Linked DNA regions of Homo sapiens: region 1 is linked to region 2. Evidence: promoter capture Hi-C in 16 types of primary human blood cells and fetal thymus (Javierre and others, 2016). All regions are on one chromosome and are shown on one strand. Each heading gives the region's core, a stretch centred on a gene start or on the middle of the fragment in contact. The rest is flanking DNA. Distances are from core to core; before and after follow the strand shown. Region 1 holds the start of RPL22L1 (ribosomal protein L22 like 1). Region 2 holds the start of ECT2 (epithelial cell transforming 2).

What was found. Contacts are between HindIII fragments. The CHiCAGO score rates a contact against its expected background, and 5 or more counts as called.
Region 1: a contact is called between the fragment with the promoter of RPL22L1 here and the fragment with the promoter of ECT2 in region 2, in 2 of 17 cell types (naive CD8 T cells and non-activated CD4 T cells). The highest score is 6.6, in naive CD8 T cells.

The regions. Positions count from the first base shown.
Region 1 is chr3:170,868,755-170,871,504 of GRCh38, forward strand. RPL22L1 (ribosomal protein L22 like 1) reads right to left here and starts at 1,441. Exons shown (of 4, transcript NM_001099645.2): 1 at 1,405-1,441. The coding sequence starts at 1,413. RefSeq lists enhancers at 934-983, 1,153-1,879, 1,880-2,605. The HindIII fragment of the contact is 15,380 bases long and covers 1-2,750 here.
Region 2 is chr3:172,749,369-172,752,068 of GRCh38, forward strand. It overlaps ECT2 (epithelial cell transforming 2), which reads left to right and starts at 1,358. Exons shown (of 25, transcript NM_001258315.2): 1 at 1,358-1,489. RefSeq lists enhancers at 894-1,163, 1,264-1,313, 1,334-1,593 and a silencer at 1,704-1,773. The HindIII fragment of the contact is 5,304 bases long and covers 1,012-2,700 here.

The sequences.
Region 1 (2,750 bases), core at 191-2,690, 1.9 Mb before region 2:
AGAAAATTCAATTCTTACGTTATTATAGGCAAGGGAAGGGGACTTTGGTAAAAAAAAAAAAAAAGAAAAGAAAAGAAAAAGAAAAAATAAAAATAAAAAAGGCAAGGTGCCGTCCCAGCACTTTGGGAGGCTGAGGCAGGAGGATCACGTGAGGTCAGGAGTTCAAGGCCAGCCTGGCCAACATGGTGAAACCCCATCTCTAGTAAAAATACAAAAATTAGCCAGGTGTGGTGGTGCATGCTTATAATCCTAGCTATTCAGGAGGCTGAGTCGGGAGGATTGCTTGAACCCGGGAGGCGGAGGTTGTAGTGAGCCTGATCATGCCACTATACTCCCACCTGGGCAACAGACTCTGTCTCAAAAAAAAAAAAAAACCTAAAAACCAACACCGTGGAACTTAAATTTTCCATATCCAAACCTTTTATACCAAGACCATATAATATGGCTACATAAGCAAAATGTTACTGTGGCCAGCAACCATGTACATTCACTGCAATATGAACAAACAAATCTGTATTTATCAGACTATAACCTCCAATTTAGATTCACCCAAGTGGCTACCAAGTATTACACATTAGTTTGCTTTCTCAGGTAGCATGGTAACATGTGCCAAAAGATAATTACCCAGTTGGCGCAGAAGTTAATTTGGGAGACACAAACAACTTCTGTCTAATGGAACAGATAACCCTATAGGGTTTATGGCCATGCTGGGCATTACCCAGTTTTGTAGCTAGCCCAGCAATTTTATCCTAACTTTATTTGTAAATTGCGCATGTATATCTAGCTTTTCAGATATTCTTAGGAACATTTTAACATCTTACTGGTTCCCTTACTAATGACTTAAGTAAAACATCTGAAGCACGTTTATTTCACATTGCTGGAATCTAGACTTATACTTTTCTAAAAATTACTTCACCGAGAAACTTCTTCCCCAACTGAAAGTTCTCAAAAACTTGTGATGTCGGCCATCGCGGGAGCTGAGCGCCTAGGAGCTCCCTCTGGCCTGGCAAAGGTCGTCAGACCGGCCCGATTACCCACCATTCCCCTACCCAGTGCTGAGTGGCAAAAGCATTATCAGGCGCGAGATAGTAAAGAAATGGCTCAGATTGCAGTACCACCGGCCCATTTACAGTTGTGCCTCCCTCTTTCCCGCGTGTCCAAAACCACCCATCCTAAACCAATTCCGGGCCCAGCTCCAACTCCACTAGACCTCATGGCAGCTGCCAGGGAGTCTCGAAAAACAGTTCAGGATCCTCGCGTCTTGGTTGTGTTTCTGACCCAGACTTCACTACTCCCCTCCCTTTATCTTGACTGAGACGTCTCCACTCGACAGATGCAAAAATCGTTACAGCGGAAATCATTAAATTGCCACACAACACTCCCACCAAGACATCGCTCACTCACCGGCGCCATCTTGCGAGTCGGCCGCGAGAGCAGAGAGGAAGCTACGGCCGCGCGGTCTGCATTTATATCAAAGCGTGCTGCGTCACGCGCTGAGAGCGTCAGATTGTCGCCTCCCGGAAAAGAAAGCGGGAGGAGCGCTGAGGCCGGTAACCCAGGAAACCAGTGCGCTGCCGGACGAGAGTAGGCCATCGGCTTTCCGCGGGCACACGCGGGTGGCTGTGGTTGAACTGACTCTCGGGTTTCCGCTCCTGGCTGTTCAAGCCGATTAATTGCAGTGGCCTCTACAGTTACCTAGTGGCTGCTCCCGGATACGGACGCACGCGAGGGATGCAGGAGTCATCTTTCACTAATCACCGGAATCCCCTTTCCAATCAGGGCAAGGCAGTGTCTCAGGTTGCTTTGGGATCTCCTTTTATTGCAGTTATAATCCTCCAGCGAAAAAGTTATTTGTTTGTGTTTTGTCTGTGAGCCTCGTTTTCTAAATGACTGTTGAGGGAAATTGGTGCTTCGGGGACCAGGTCCTCGGGAAAAAAAAATCATGTATATATATGCTTACACGCCCACGCCTGTAATCCCAGCACTTTGGGAGGCCGAGGCCGGAGAATCTCTTGAGCCCAGGAGTTCGAGACCACCCTTGGCAGCGTAGGCATAGGGAGAACCCGTCTCTACAAACAATTTTAAAAAAAATGGCCCGCGTGGTGGTGCGCGTCTGTACTCCCAGCCACTCGGGAGGCTGAGGCAGGAGCATCGCTTTACCTTGAGAGGCGGAAGTTGCAGTGAGTCGAGATCGAGCCACTGCACTCCAGCCTGGGTAACAGTGAGACTGTCTCAAAGGGAAAAACACGTAGTGCTTGCTTCTTGTTCATTCGTTTGGTATAATTTATCATGGGTTTTACAGTTAATCCCAGGTCTCTTGATTTCCATCCAAAATGCTCCCAGTTAAAATTCAATGAATGTTTGCTGTGACCTATCAGTATGTACAAGACACACGAGGGTGGAAGTGTCTTGCTGACAAAAGGAAAAAGTAGCTTTTGAGCTTTGAAGGATTGTAAATTGACATCAGATCCGAAAAGTGGCATGCTGAACCGCTTGGGTTTAGCAGTAATATGTTTTCGTGGAGATGAAATTATCATACCTAGGGGTAGGGGTAAGGGATGGGGTGGACTTTGTTGTTAATTTGAAGAATGACCCCAGAAAGTAAGAACTGTTCGTGGCCTTTATGCCAGCAAGTAGTTATCGTGGAAACTATGCTTTAATAGAGCATATGACTTGTAGAGTCTGAAGAGAGGCCCTGAATTCCTAGAAGAAATCCATTTCAACAAGATTTTTTAGTTGTCTGCCTTAAG
Region 2 (2,700 bases), core at 108-2,607:
AGTCTGTTGAGCAGAAAGCGGTGCACAAAGGAAGTAGGGCTGCTTCCCACAATAGCTTAATATGTTTTCAGTGATGAACGTTTTTGGAATGCTGGGCACACCCGACTTCCAAATACGCAAGCACATTCCAAATGGAAATTTCAATTACTGTTTTTCTTTTTTTCTGCCGTAACAGTTATCACAGCATTTTAATGAAGGTCAGACTTAAATACTGACAAGCAGGGAAACCAATAATTACCAGATTGCTTCATTCATTTTGTGGACAGCATTATAAACTTTTCAGGCATTCTAAGATTGCCTGACAAAATTAGAAAAAATTGTTAAGTCCCCACAACCTGCTTGAGATGCTCACAAGTGTTCCATCCCAAAGTACACGTTTGCCTCTTCTTATTGGTATTTAGGTTCTGGCATCTGATTCCCCTTTCTTCTTCTATTTATATTAGCCTTCAGGTGGGAACTATGGAAAACCCACCTGGTGGGGGTGTATTTTTCTTAAGAGATTGTGTTATATGGTATCATATTTAGAAAATAAAGAAATTATTTTCATAATAGCAACGCTAATCACAGGAAAAACTTGATACATTCTTGACTAGACTTTAGGGGAAAGTACAAGTTCTTAGTGGGCGGAGGGGGGCAAAGACGAAGCAATTTGGCTCCAAAAATTCTAGAATCTCGTGGCATATTTTTATCAAATTCAAGCTTATCTTTAAAAAAATCCGAGAATTTTTCTAATTTCTAAGAATTGATTCTAACCCGCGATACTCCCTAGATGGGAGCGCAGTGCTTTAAATAATAGCATTTAAATAAGCGGCTGCTGATTTGAAGTCCACCTGGGGAGTCCGAGTTCTAGGACCGGTCCTTGGCCCTGCCACACGCCAATACAACCATCAAAGTCAAAATCCCTTAACTCAAATTTAAATACATTCCTAAAGCAGAAAGCATCCCGATAGGAAAATCCTACAGCTCACAGCAAGCAGCAGGGAAACATTTATCTCTGGCGGCACTGATTTAAGCTTAAAAGATTTGGTATCGTTTAAAAAAAAAAAAAAGCTGGGTGGGGCCGAGGAGAATCCACCCAAACTTTCCTCAGGAAGTAGGATGTTTACTGAGTAAATATGCGGTAGTCACAGAAACACCTGCTACTCCTTTAAGACCTCAGGAGCCACCACCGCCACCTCCTGGCCACATCCGGGCACTTCTCTGCAAACTCCTGGCGTCCCGACGCCCGAGTCGTTGGGCTTATTTGAAACACACGCACAACCAATCAAGCGGCGCCTGCCGGGACTTGGAGAGCGTCGACCAATCACCGCCCCTCTGGAGACTCCTGCCTATGGGAAAGAGGTTGACATCACGCGCCAATCGGCATGGCTCTTAGAGAGAGCAGCTTAGTTTTTGAATCGGTTGTGGCGGCCGCCGGCGAGGAATGGCGGTATTTGTGAGAGGAGTCGGCGTTTGAAGAGGTGGAACTCCTAGGGCTTTTTTGAGAGTGGTAAGGACTCTGTGTGAGTGAGAGAGGTGCAAGTGGGCGAGCGGCTCCAGAGCCAAGGGCTCTTTTGCCTGCGGTCGACGTCCCCGCCCCTAGTGACCGCGAATTCCGGAGCGCCCCAGCTCAGGCTTCCCGGATCCGGGAACTCCCTCGCCGCACCCCACCCCCAGCAGCCGGGCCCTGACGCGGAGTGGGAGACCGAAGCCCCCAGTATTGCTGGGCATCTTCGCCCTCACCTGTTGGCTCTTTTGGACAGAAGAGTGTGGGTGAAGGGAGGGAGTTGGGAAAGGGATTTTGGCAAGCCGCGCAGCCCTGTGGCTTTGGGGGCCGGCACTTGCAGCCTTTGGGGGCTTATCTCAGAGTGCGCCGTGGTTTTATTCTAGGATTCATCCTGGCTTCTTTGCGGGAAGTTTAATTTTTCGTTTTTGCAAGATAAATCCAGGCCATCCGCCCCTCGTCCTCCCCAGCCACCCGGCACAGATGTGTCCGGCTTAGTGGTTAAAGGCGCAGCCTCTGGATTTAGCCGGGCTTTGAATACCTCTTTTACCCCTTACTAACAGTTTGACTTAGGGGAAGTTGCTTAACCTCTCTGTTCCTACGTTTCTTCATCCATACATTGAAAATAATAATAGTACCTGCCTCTTAGGATTACTGCAGAGATTAAAAGGTTTAGGACAATGTCTGCCACGTATTAAGCGTTAAGTAAATGTCAGTTGTTAATAGTAATGTTATTGTTAATAACACCACCATTATATCTTGGATTGCATTTTAGTCCTTCACCTTGGAAGATGATTGCCTAAAAAGTATTTAAGTAAAAGGAAACTTGAATGTTTGTTTACATGGCAAATTTTATCTCTGGGATAAAAGGGGGCATGTGTTATAGTGTGTTTAGTTAGAAGCTCCTTGGGTCTGTTCTTGGGTGAGAAGCTGTGTAGGTTTATGAACACTGATCCTATTGTGCTTATTTTAAAGGCTTCTGGAATACAGTAATTTGAAAAAAAGTGATTAATATATTTCCATTTCTAATCTGACTGTTGGATGTTAGTTATGTCATCAAGTTACCGTAGTGCATCTCTTTTTCTCTATACATTTTGAAGCTGTTTTGGCAATAAATTGATCATATACAGTATCATCAGGGGCAATTTTAATTATTAATCATCTGCTTTCGATCATCTGCTATGCTCCCTCCCTTTTATTAATCATCTGCTTTTGAT